2 separate regions of the Homo sapiens genome follow, and region 1 is linked to region 2. Evidence: promoter capture Hi-C in human tissues and cell types (Jung and others, 2019). All regions are on one chromosome and are shown on one strand. The core of a region is centred on a gene start or on the middle of the fragment in contact, and the rest is flanking DNA. Distances in the headings are between cores, read along the strand shown.

The links. The method cuts DNA at HindIII sites, captures the fragments that hold promoters and counts their contacts. A contact is called where the count stands out against the background at its distance.
Region 1: a contact is called between a fragment that was not itself captured here and the fragment with the promoter of PTGDR in region 2, in 1 of the 25 tissues and cell types used here (IMR-90 fibroblasts).

The regions. Positions count from the first base shown.
Region 1 is chr14:52,215,522-52,221,722 of GRCh38, forward strand. No RefSeq gene overlaps it. Among named protein-coding and RNA genes, the nearest start is that of PTGDR, 49 kb to the right of the region's middle. The HindIII fragment of the contact is 4,919 bases long and covers 1-3,762 here.
Region 2 is chr14:52,262,532-52,269,156 of GRCh38, forward strand. PTGDR (prostaglandin D2 receptor) reads left to right here and starts at 5,167. Exons shown (of 2, transcript NM_000953.3): 1 at 5,167-6,129. The coding sequence starts at 5,284. The HindIII fragment of the contact is 10,952 bases long and covers 2,068-6,625 here.

The sequences.
Region 1 (6,201 bases), core at 53-2,552, 51 kb before region 2:
TGGCTTCCACCTGGATCTTCTTGATGAAATCCTGTTTTTCTCCTTACTTGTGCCATCTCTGTCACTTCTGCCCAGTCCCCACTCCACCCCTAACTTTTATTTACCCAGGTAGGGGTGTCCACCTTTCTCTCACCAGACAGCTTCTGGCCCTGAAAGTGAGTGGGAACCAGGTAGTAACCAAGAAAGTAGGACTGAGCTGGGGTAGAGCTTTCCTGATACTTCTCTTTAGAGCTCCCACAAATCAGTTAGGGGTGCGGGCTTTCAATTAAGAATTTCCAACACTGAAAAAAATCCATTTTAGAAAAATGTAATTATGGTATATTTGGAATTAAGATGAATTGTGTATTTGTAAACAGAGGTTATTAAATACTATGAAAGACAGGGAAATTTAAAACACCAGCTAATTTAGAATTTTCCTTTTTCAATGAAAGTATGCCTGTGTTGAGACTGATGTTACCACAATAGTACCAAGCCAAAAAAAAAAAAAGTTTTTCTGCATTTGTTACAATTGCCTGCAATTTAAAGAACAACATGGATTAAATAGGATTTTATGAGTTAGGGTGAGAAATTAGTCACTCTCTTTAAATTATTCATGGACTGGACATGGTGGCTCACATCTATAGTCCTAGCACTTTGGGAGGACAAGGTAGGAGAATCACTTGAGCCCAGGAGTTCAAGACCAGTCTGGGTAACACAGAGAGACTCCTTCTCTACAAAAAAATTTAAAATTAGCCAAGTGTGGTGGCATATGCCTGTGATCACAGTTACTTGGGAGGCTGAGGTGGGAGAATCTCTTGAGCCCAGGAATTTGAAGCTGCAGTGAGCCATGTCAGTGCCACTGCTCTCCAGCCTGGGCAACAGAGTAAGATCCTGTCTCAAAAGATAGTAATTATTATAATTTTGTGGGAAATTTATTTTTAAATTCCAAAGAAGTGAATCACCAACTAATTTGTGAATGTATTTTTAATTCCCGTCCTATGCTAGACAATAAACAAAACACACAGCACAGCCCCACTTTCTCAAGAAACTTATTTCTGTGCCAGAAAAAACCAAAATGGAAGTATTTTTCTATGAGTTTTTGAAATGAGATTGTTTGTTTGCTTTGGACATTTTAAATGAAGGCCTCCTAGATTTAATCATTTTTGGAGCAGCCAATGTGTAATGAGGGCATAGATAAGGGGTAGATGAAAAACACAAAGTATGTTCCCAGCCAAAGTAATATCTTTAAAATTTATTGTTTTCAGGCATACAATAATATAGATGGCAAATATCATACAAAATCAAGCTTAAAAATAAAATATGATAGATACTACTGAAGCCTCCGTTACCCTCTTAGATCCTATTTCCCCGTCTCCATCGTCAAAATCCATTTTAGATGGATTTATATTATCCAGAAATTGGTGTTCATCATTCCCATGCATATTTCTACAATTCTGTAATATACGTATGTTTCCATAGACATTATATGGTACTGCATTGATGGTTTTAAACTTCACACAAATAGTATTATACTGTATATATTCTCCTGCAACTTTCTTCTTCTCTTTCACATTTTGTACAATTCAGCCATGTTGATATATTCATCGTACTGTCGTATACTACTTCTACTATTGCTCCTGTTGCTGTCGTTACCACTGTTAATGGATTTTATTTTGTGCTTGACACTGTTCTAGGCATTTTAAAGTATTGTACACTGTTCTAGTATTTAATCATGTTATCCTCAAAAAATCTTTTTATCAGATAGGTACTACTGTGATCCTCATCATCAAGTGAAGAAAAATTTGGGGTTTAAGCTCAAGATCACATGATCAATAAATTAGTATGAAGACATCACAATTAATTTATGCGTCCTTATGGACATCAATGTGATTTCCAGGTATTCAGCATTACAAATGTTGAATGCTGCAGTGAGCATCCTGTATATGGCTCCCTGTGCACCTGTACAAGAATTTCTGGGAGTGTACACCTTGAAGTGAAATTGCAGCATCAGAGGAAATCCACATTCTCAACTTGACGAAATTTTTCCAAATTGTTCTAAGTGATTATTCTAATTTGCAACCCCCCACACCCACTCCTGCCCCAACAGTGTTGATTCATAAGGACCTATCACTGGGGTTTTCAGACTTAAACTTTTACCAATATGATAGTTTTACCTCACTGTGGGTTTTTTTTTTTTGCATTTTTTTATTTCTGCCTTTGTTTGTGCTGCTAATATTTAAGAGTGAGTAATTTATAAAGAACCAAAATTTATTTTCTTGTAGTTCTAGAGGCTGGAAAGTGCAAGACCAAGGTGCCAGCAGGTGTGACTGCCTGCTGAGGAACATTCTCTGCTCCCAGCGTGGCACCTTGTTGCTACATCCTCCGGAGCGGAGGAACACTGTGTCCTCACATGGTGGAAGACAGAAGGGCAAGTCCATCAAGGCCTTGTGTAAGGGTCCCTAATTCCATTCATAAGGAGAGGCACACTAATCACCTTATCACCTCTTAAAGGCCCCACTTCTTAATACCATCACATTGTAAGTTTCAATGCCTGAATTTTGGAGGGGACACATTCAAACCATAGCAATTATTCTTGAGTTTAAGCTCTTATTCCTCCATGAATTGCCTATCCATATCCTTTGCAACTTGGTTCTGTTTCTTTTTAGGAATGCTGCACATATTAAATACTAATCCTTTGTCCATCACCTACATTGTAAACACCTTCTTCCAGTCTGTGGTTTATCATGTCCCCCATCCTATCTTTTATAATACAGAACTTTTTTTAATGTAGTCAAATTTACCAATATTTTGTTTATGGTTCGGGCTTATTTTGTTTTTTTAAAAAACATATTTTCATGCTCTAACATAAATTCTTTTAAATGTCCCTTGTATCAGTTGAAGGGCAGGGCACAGTGGCTTATGCCTCCAATCCCTGCACTTTGGGAAGTTCAAGACCAAGCCTGGCCAATATAGTGAGACCCCTGTCTCTACAAAAATAAAAATAAAAAACTAGCCAGATGTGGTGGTACCTACCTGTAGTCCCAGCTACTTGGAAGGCAGAAGGCAGAGGCAGGAGGATCCCTGGAGCCAGGAGTTCAAGGCTACAGTGAGCTATGATTGTATCACTTCATTTCAGCCAGGGCAATAGCTCAAGATGCTCTCTCTTTTCCGTTTCTTTTTTTTTTTTTTTTTTTTTTTTTGAGACTGAGTTTCACTCTTGTTTCCCAGGCCGGAGTGTAGTGGCACAGTCTCGGCTCACTGCAACCTCCACCTCCTGGGTTCAAGCGACTCCTGCCTCAGCCTCCCAAGTAGCTAGGATTACAGGCACCCACCACGACGCCTGGCTAATTTTTGTATTTTTAGCAGAGACGAGGTTTCACCATGTTAGCCAGGCTGGTCACGAACTCCTGACCTCAGGTGATCTGCCCGCCTCGGCCTCCCAAAGTGCTGGGATTACAGGCATGAGCCACCGTGCCCGGCCTAAGACCCTCTCTCAAAAAAAAGAAAAGAAAAAGAAAAAGAAAGAAGAAGGCCAGGTGCGGTGGCTCATGCCTGTAATCGCAGCACTTTGGGAGTCCAAGGCGGGCAGATCACCTGAGGTCAGGGGTTCCAGACCAGCCTGGTCAACATGGTGAAGCCACATCTCTATTAAAAAATACAAAAATTAGCCGGGTGTGGTGGCGTGCACTTGTAGTTCCAGCTACTCAGGAGGCTGAGTCAAAAGAATTGCTTGAACCCAGGAGGTGGAGGTTGCAGTGAGCGGAGACCGTGCCACTGTACTCTAGCCAGGTGGTAGAGGGAGACTCCAACTCAAAAAAAAAAAAAAAAAGGAAAAAGATTTTGTTTTGGGCATCAATTTCCAATTCATGTAGGTCAATTTTTGTGCATGGTAAGATGTGGAACTCTAGTTTTACTTTTTCTCCTTGTGGTTCATCATTTTTCTATTTATCAATATTCCACTCTCCCCTCACTGATCTGTATTGCTATCTCATTTATTTCTTTTTTCTTTTTTTTTTTTTTTTTTTTAACCAAGACAGGGTCTCACTCTATCACCCAGGCTGGAGTGCAGTGGCATTATCATGGTTCACTGCAGCCTTGACCTTCCAGGCTCAAGCGATCTTTCCACCTCAGCCTCTTGAGTAACTGGTATCACAGACATATGCCATGGCATGATGCCATGCCTGGCTAATTGTGGTATTTTTTTGTAGAGACAGGGTTTTTCCATGTTGCCCAGGCTGGTCTCAACCTCCTGGGCTTAAGCAATCTTCTCCCTTCGGCCTCCCAAAGTGTTGAGATTACAGCCGTGAGGCACCGTACCTGGCCTTCTTCCATTTCTGGAGCATGTTTTCTTATGTGCATAAGCCTGTTCCTGGACTCTCTACTCTGTCCCATTATTCCATTTGTCTAGCCCTGCACTTACACCACACTGTTGAATTACTTAACTTTATTTTCAATTCTGTTATCTAATATGGCATGTCTCCTTGCTTTTTCAACTTTAACATTACTCCTGGCTCTTTTTGGCCCTTTGATCTGTCATGTGAGTTTGAGTCAGATTATTAAATTCCACAGAAAATGTTTTTTATTGTATCAATATTTATTAATTCAAGGTTTATGGTATTAATGTTATTTATTAGTTTGGCAAAAATTGAGCTTTTTATATTCCATGGGTATCTGCCTGTTTCTTATCAGGCTGTCAGTCCTGGCCCCCCAGCATATCAGGCTCTACATTCCTCTTTCAGCTATAGGGTCTTGCTCAAATTTCCCCTTTCCATTGTTTCTTTTCTTTTTTTTTTTTTCTTTTTTTTTTTTTTTTTTTTGAGATGGAGTCTCGCTCTGTGGCCCAGGCTGGAGTGCATGGAATGCAGTGGTGAGATCTTGGCTCACTGCAACCTCTGTCTCCTGGGTTCAAGATTCTCCTGCCTCAGCCTCTTGAGTAACTAGGACTATAGGCATGCACTACCACACCCGGCTAATTTTTGTATTTTTAGTAGAGACAGGGTTTCACCTTGTTAGTTAGGCTGGTCTCGAACTCCTGACCTCAAGTGATCCATCTGCCTCAGCCTCCCAAAGTGCCCTTTATTTATTTACTTATTTATAGCTCCATACACTTCTGCCTTTTTCTGGGCCCCCCAGGGATAGGTCTGGAGGAGGAGGCCAGCGGCCCTTGCTAGCCTCCTACTTGTCAAGAACCGCAAGTCTCTTGTTTATGTTTTAATTTTGAGAGCCCAGAGGCCCCAGAGAATGTCATTTATGTCACTCCAGCGAGAGATGCATGGTAATATCAAAGCTGTTTCCCCCCCCACCCCCGACAAAAAAGATAAGAATTCAACCAATGGCTGGAAAAGGGGATGCAAAAAGGATGTGAGCTGAGAGGCACAGTTTATGAGAAGAGTCCAGCACCCGGACTCTCCTCTTCAGGTTGAACCCCAAAGTTGTGGGGTTGATGGAGCTTTCTGATGAGTTTGGGGGGCCTGCAGAGCAGAGAAACTTTGTGCCTCCCTTGCCAGCTGTGGCCTTGAGGAAATGAAGAAAAGGCCCCACAGAAGCTCCAAGTACAGTCTGATTCAGCAATACCCCAGCACTGCTGAGTGTGTTGTCCAGGCAAGTGAACCGGACAGCAGCCCCACAGAGGCCCACACCAGCCAGGTGGCACAGGACAGCCTCTGGAATCATCCTTTGCTCTGACAAAGGACACAGGGAAGCCTGCAGATGAAAAGGGTCTATGACTGGGACAAAGGGGAAGCAACATCGGTGGACCAGCTGACTATAAGCCATGTGGAGCTGAAGATGTCAGCAAGGGAGCAGGGTCGACACAGTGCATGGCCAAGCTCAAGAGAGAGGTGCAGGGGCAGAGGCCAGCCCCTGCACGGGCATTCCTCCCCCAGTGTCAGAACACTTCCCAGGAACCTCAGGCCTCCCCCAAGGAGAAGGAAAGGAAAAGAGGAAATAGGAGAGTTGCCAAATGAACAGAGCAATTAGATAAAAGTATTTTTAAACCTAAAGGGACTGCATTGTATCAAATTAGCAAGCCTAAGTTTCCTACCATTAGCAACGCCTAAATGGAGTCCAGTTATAATGCTATAATGAGCCCTCGATCTTTGTGCACGGGTAAACTGAAATAGTGAATTTCATACCTGTGACAGCTTTCACTTTCATTTTTATCTTATTGGTTTAAACATTTTTGCCATTGAAACTTTCTCATTTTATCTGTTTTGTTCAGTC
Region 2 (6,625 bases), core at 3,917-6,416:
ATTCAGGACTGAAAGGCTTATTCCCCGCGCTGTGGCACAGTCCTCAGCCATCAGCCCCCTCCATGTATTGCCTTGGCTGAGAGAGCTGCAGCACCCAAGGCTCTATGCCCTTCCCCAGGGCAACCTGCCCCCAGTCACTGGCCCATTCAGGGATACAAAAGCCTAGTATCCTTACCTTCAAGTGAGACAACTTTGAGGGGCCTTGTCAGCTTCTGAGTTTCCAGTCAGGTTAGTTAAGGTCTGTCATTGGAACTATCACAACCCAATTTCTCTACTCAATCCTGTTTCTGTTCCTTCTTTTTCACAGGTGTCAATCTCAAAAGCACTTCCTAATAAATACGCTACATATCCTATCCTCATCTCCATCTCAGAGTCTGCTTTTCTCAGGCAACCAAACCAGCCATAGCTGCCAACAACTTCCCTTGGAAGCTTATGCAAGCTGCTAGAAAAGCTCAGTAATCAGTGAACCCTCACAACCTGTCATCAGGTTACAAATGGATTATACCACCATTTATTTACTCTCAGGTCATCACCCAAAGACGTTTTCAAAAAATTCATGCTGATCTTTTGAAAGCGTATTTTCTCAAATTCCTACACATACAGAGATCCTGATCCTGATTTACACATGGACAGAAGCCAAAGATCAAAATGGAAATTCTTGCTAGGCAAAAGGTTGGGGAAGCCTGAAAAGCAGGAATAAGAATCAAACAAACATGAAGATTTTATTAAACTACCTGCAAATAGCAAACAGATGCCAAAATATTTGGGCAGACCACCACAAGACATTGTGTGACCCCAAAAACACAGGGCACTGACACATGGTCTGTCCCTGGTGGTAGTTCTGCCTCTTGACTTCTGAGCAGATAGAGGAAGTGGCAGGATCTCTCCTTTCTCTCTCACTCTCTGGTCTTCTCTGCAATTCTCTTTCTCCAAGGCAGAGGCTTGGGGAATCCAAAAGACCTGGATGCCAATTCTAGACTCATCACATACCAGTTGTGTGAACTTAAACAAGTTATTAACCTCTCTGAGTCTCATTTTCCTTATCCAAGAAAAGAGAGATAAAGAAAACTTCTGCAGTGCAGTTGGCAGGAATAAAAACATTAATGAACATCACTTACGGAGCCACGCAGAGCATGCCACAGCACAGTGCTTAACATTCTCACCTGAGCTGCACACAGGAATTAACTGGGGAGCTTCAAAAAAGATACTGAAGCCTGGAGGGCAACCCCAAAGAGTCTGATATCATCAATTTGGGGTGCTGAAGCATCACAAAGGTTTAAAGCTCTCCAGGTGATTCCAAAGTGCAGCCAAGATTGCTAACTATTGTTCTATGCAGATTATTTCATTTAAGCCAGATACTACCCTAAGAGTTCAGTCCAATTATCCCCCTTCACCCTCCTTCCCTCCTTTCTACAGACAAGCGGATTGAGGTTTAGAAAGGTTAGAAGATTATGCAAGGGTACACAGCTAGCAAGGGGCAAAGCTGAGATTTAAGTTCACACAGTATGACTCCCAGGACCTAACACATCATGGCCACACTTCTATGCTACCACTCCAGGTCCTGAATGTGAACGAACATCTAGCATGGTCTCTAGCATGCAGAACATGCTCCAAATTTGAGAGCTAAGTTTGTTTATCATTTGTTAGCATCCCTCCTCTCCATTCCTTGCTCTTCACAAGCCCCAGCCCAAAATATCACTTGGAGTTCAGTAGAAGTGAGCAATGGATAAGATTTAGAAGCATAGTTAGAATGGATCCAGAAAAAAATAAATGTTCCTTTTTCCTTCTTTTCCCCTTCCTAGATCCCCACCATAAGCATACATTTCTTGTATTAGTCTGTTCTCATGCTGCTAATAAAGACATACCTGAGACTGGGTAATTTATAAAGGAAAGAGGTCCAACTGACTCACAGTTCCACATGGCTGGGGAGGCCTCACAATAATGGCAGAAGGTGGATGAGGAGCAGTCACGTCTTACATGGCAGCAGGCAAGAGAGAACTTGTGTAGGGGAACTCTCCTTTATAAAACCATCAGATGTTGTGAGACTTATTCACTATCACAGAACAGCATGGGAAAGACCTGCCCCCATGATTAATTACATTTCATCAGTTCCCTCCCATGACCACATGGGAATTATAGGAGCTACATTCAAGATGAGACTTGGGTGGGGACAGAACCAAACCATATCACTTGTTTTACATTTAAAGTCTTTTAAAATAATTATTACATATACAACATTGAAAATATCAGAAACCAAGGAGATATTTTTCTGCCATCCCTTCTCAAGTCTAAGTGAATGTTTTCATTTGCCTATGTCAGCTTCTGAGCCTTGTCCATGAGAATCTATGATTTTTATGTTTATATTGCCATAATATAATTATATATTTAAAATAGTCATCCACATGATGTCATATATTTTCAGAAGATTTGTCCTATAACCCAATTAAGCAGCCTGGTACAGCTCTGTAGATAATGGAGGTAATTTTACCACTAACTTAGCCTAAGATATTTTCATTAAAGGTTTCCCTTTTAAGGAAAAAATGTACTTAGCCTGGTTACTCTGAAAGCTGATATAAAAATGTATAAGCCTGTAGAGGTCACACGACATGATGTTTGCCTTTCCTTATCTGTTGTATGCCCCTCAGTGCCCACATGCTTCATCCCCTCACCCCCATGCTTGGCACAGAGTAGGAGCGCAAAAACTATTTGACGCATGAACAAATGATACTTTTCTTGGTTGTATGGTGAAATTACAAAATAGAATTTCTCGGGAACTGGGACAGAAGACTCCAAAGTTAGGCCTGAGAACAGGGTAGGGTGGACACCAGCAAAGCAATCAGGAAAGGCAACCGGAAACCCCATCGTAAAGGCCAGCTACAGTGGCTGAGAGGAAACGTGTGGTTTCCTGAATTGCACTTGTTCAAAACCTTCAACCTTAAAGCATGATGTATGTAAACCTTATCAAGGACCCACAGCTGGCCCAACAGTCACACTTTGGGGTTGTTTTCTTTAAAAGGTATTTGTAATCTTAGGGTTCCTAGGATAAATACGGAGTTGTAAGCCACTGTAGCATGAAAATAAAGCTGCAAAGAATTGAAGTAGGTATGCTTCAGAAGAACAACCCATGCAATATTTTTAGAGGAAGGATTCTTAAGCTAGTGTCCATTGGGTCTCCTCTGGGTACCATAGAAGGGCTTCAGGAAATGGTGAACAGCCTGAGATTGATGTAAAGTGTGTGTGTGTGTGTCTGCGTGTGTGTCTGTGTGTGTGTGCCTGTGTGTGTGTGTGTGTCTGTCTGTCTATGGAGGAGACCACAGCTTTCATCAAATTCTCATGTCTTTTGGTTATGGGGCCTGCTCTTCCTTTCACTTCATTAAGTCGAGTGGGGCTCTTCTAAACCCATTCTTATGTGCTAGGGGCTAGAGATGGGAATGAGAGAGAGTAGGTAGAAGACAAGGGAACTAACTCTATACAAGGCCTTCTATTGAGTCAATATAAGTGAAAGGCTTAGAGAGTGTCCAACCTGCATCAGGACCAATAAATATTAGCTCTTATTATTATTATTACACTATGCCAAAGCACTTCAAGTTTTCTCAACCTCACAACAACCCCACAAGTTCAGCATAAGTCTCATATTCCATTAGGTTGAACAACTAACCCAGGGTCACACAGCCAGTGGTGGAGTTCAGAACTATCTAATTCCAAGCTTAGATTCTTCTTTTCCACCCTGTGGCCTGAATTACTGGCCAGACTTTCAGTCTGGAGGCAGCCTCTCTGTCTACCCTTCAGGCTTTCACATCTAAATCCCAAGGGTCTTGCTCTTTCCCTGAGTCTGTCCATCAGAACTGGCATGAGGCCTAAAAATGAGCCGTTTCAAGCCCAGGCATCATCTACTCACTTACATAACAAAACCTTAGTCATCCCACTGAGATTCCACACTCAAAGCCAATTTCTCTCACAGGGCATCGAATGCTAGTTAAAGATATAAAATCACGCTTATCACAATTAACTCCCTTGCCTTTATGATGCAGCCAAGTCAAAGCCCAAACAGGAATAAATTTTTTCTAGTAGCCACAAATCAGAGGAGTGAGAAAGCTCTATGCCAAATCTACCATTTTCTGATTTCAAAATCCATGCTAAAAACTGCAGTTAAACATCAGCTACCAAAACACCCTTCTATCAAATAAGAATCATGGTGATTGCATGAATTGAGCACTTTCTATGTACTTGCTCTTTACGTGTTATTTCTATGCCTCAGAAGAGCCAAGCAGGCCAGATAGATGTTACTGCTTGAGAGGCTAAGCAAGTCCCATAAGGTCACACACACAGTGAGGAGCAGAACCTGGACTCAAACCCAGGCCTATCTGATGACAGCAACAGTGCTGCTAACCATGCCCTTCCCCCCAGCTCTCTACAGTCAATGTGATTCATGGCACCCAGGACCAACACCGGCTCTTGGCTTTCCCACAAACCACTTCCCTGAAATCTGGACAACTTCTTGGGAGGAGGAGTCATGGGAACAGGACAGATGAACTCCAAAATAGAAGATCGGGTGAGAGGTCCGGCTCTGCTACTTCTGTAGCTCTGTCACCACGGGCAGATCACTTAACTTTCCAAGGCCTCAGTTTCCTCGCCTATGCAATGGAGATGACCGTGAATGCCCCAAATTGCGCTGATCTAGTAGAGAAGAGGAGCTAAGGCTCAGGGGCTTTCCAGACGTGAGTTATCTTTACCTTTCCTTGACTAGCTAATTCAAGACAACTAGGTAGAAGCCCTTTCTCAGCCTCCCCTCTTCGCTCATCTTTCGAGTTCTTGGCCACCCCAGTTCAAACACCAGCACCATTGCCCTCCTCTCAGGTGGCTGCTGCTTAATTTCCCCTCCACTTTAGTAGTTCTTCTCTTGCCTCGCTAGAAGGACTGGTGTTGGGTGCTTGGAATTCTGGCTATTTTCCTCCTGCCGTTCCGACTCGGCACCAGAGTCTGTCTCTACTGAGAACGCAGCGCGTCAGGGCCGAGCTCTTCACTGGCCTGCTCCGCGCTCTTCAATGCCAGCGCCAGGCGCTCACCCTGCAGAGCGTCCCGCCTCTCAAAGAGGGGTGTGACCCGCGAGTTTAGATAGGAGGTTCCTGCCGTGGGGAACACCCCGCCGCCCTCGGAGCTTTTTCTGTGGCGCAGCTTCTCCGCCCGAGCCGCGCGCGGAGCTGCCGGGGGCTCCTTAGCACCCGGGCGCCGGGGCCCTCGCCCTTCCGCAGCCTTCACTCCAGCCCTCTGCTCCCGCACGCCATGAAGTCGCCGTTCTACCGCTGCCAGAACACCACCTCTGTGGAAAAAGGCAACTCGGCGGTGATGGGCGGGGTGCTCTTCAGCACCGGCCTCCTGGGCAACCTGCTGGCCCTGGGGCTGCTGGCGCGCTCGGGGCTGGGGTGGTGCTCGCGGCGTCCACTGCGCCCGCTGCCCTCGGTCTTCTACATGCTGGTGTGTGGCCTGACGGTCACCGACTTGCTGGGCAAGTGCCTCCTAAGCCCGGTGGTGCTGGCTGCCTACGCTCAGAACCGGAGTCTGCGGGTGCTTGCGCCCGCATTGGACAACTCGTTGTGCCAAGCCTTCGCCTTCTTCATGTCCTTCTTTGGGCTCTCCTCGACACTGCAACTCCTGGCCATGGCACTGGAGTGCTGGCTCTCCCTAGGGCACCCTTTCTTCTACCGACGGCACATCACCCTGCGCCTGGGCGCACTGGTGGCCCCGGTGGTGAGCGCCTTCTCCCTGGCTTTCTGCGCGCTACCTTTCATGGGCTTCGGGAAGTTCGTGCAGTACTGCCCCGGCACCTGGTGCTTTATCCAGATGGTCCACGAGGAGGGCTCGCTGTCGGTGCTGGGGTACTCTGTGCTCTACTCCAGCCTCATGGCGCTGCTGGTCCTCGCCACCGTGCTGTGCAACCTCGGCGCCATGCGCAACCTCTATGCGATGCACCGGCGGCTGCAGCGGCACCCGCGCTCCTGCACCAGGGACTGTGCCGAGCCGCGCGCGGACGGGAGGGAAGCGTCCCCTCAGCCCCTGGAGGAGCTGGATCACCTCCTGCTGCTGGCGCTGATGACCGTGCTCTTCACTATGTGTTCTCTGCCCGTAATTGTGAGTCCCCGGGCCCCGAGGCAGCAGGGCACTGAGACTGTCCGGCCGCGGATGCGGGGCGGGAAGGGTGGAGCGGATCGGGATGGACGCGGCGCCAGGCGAGCTGCGCCCTGGGCCAGGAAGGTTTGCTGCTGAGTTCCCCAAATTGGATTCCTTCCACAGCCCCGAGATATAACTCAGTTTGCGGAGCGAAATGAGGGAAAGTTAGAGAAAGGAAGGGAAAGGCTGAGCCCGGCGGTGTCTCCCTAGCCCAGCAAAACCCTCTCCATGTGGCAGAACTCCCTCCTCTCTGCTTCCTTCTGGGGAGATCTCGAGGTCATTTTTGCGCCTTAGGAGGAGCAGAACTTAGTTTCTCCTTGGCAACAGGAGTCTTCTACTTCCCGACGGCTGGGTGATGTTTTATTTTGTTAGACCTGCTCATGACTTCAGTGGTATCAGAAATGGGCGAATGGCGTCTGGGACGATCTTCTCCCCGGTGTTGGCATAGAAAGGGAAA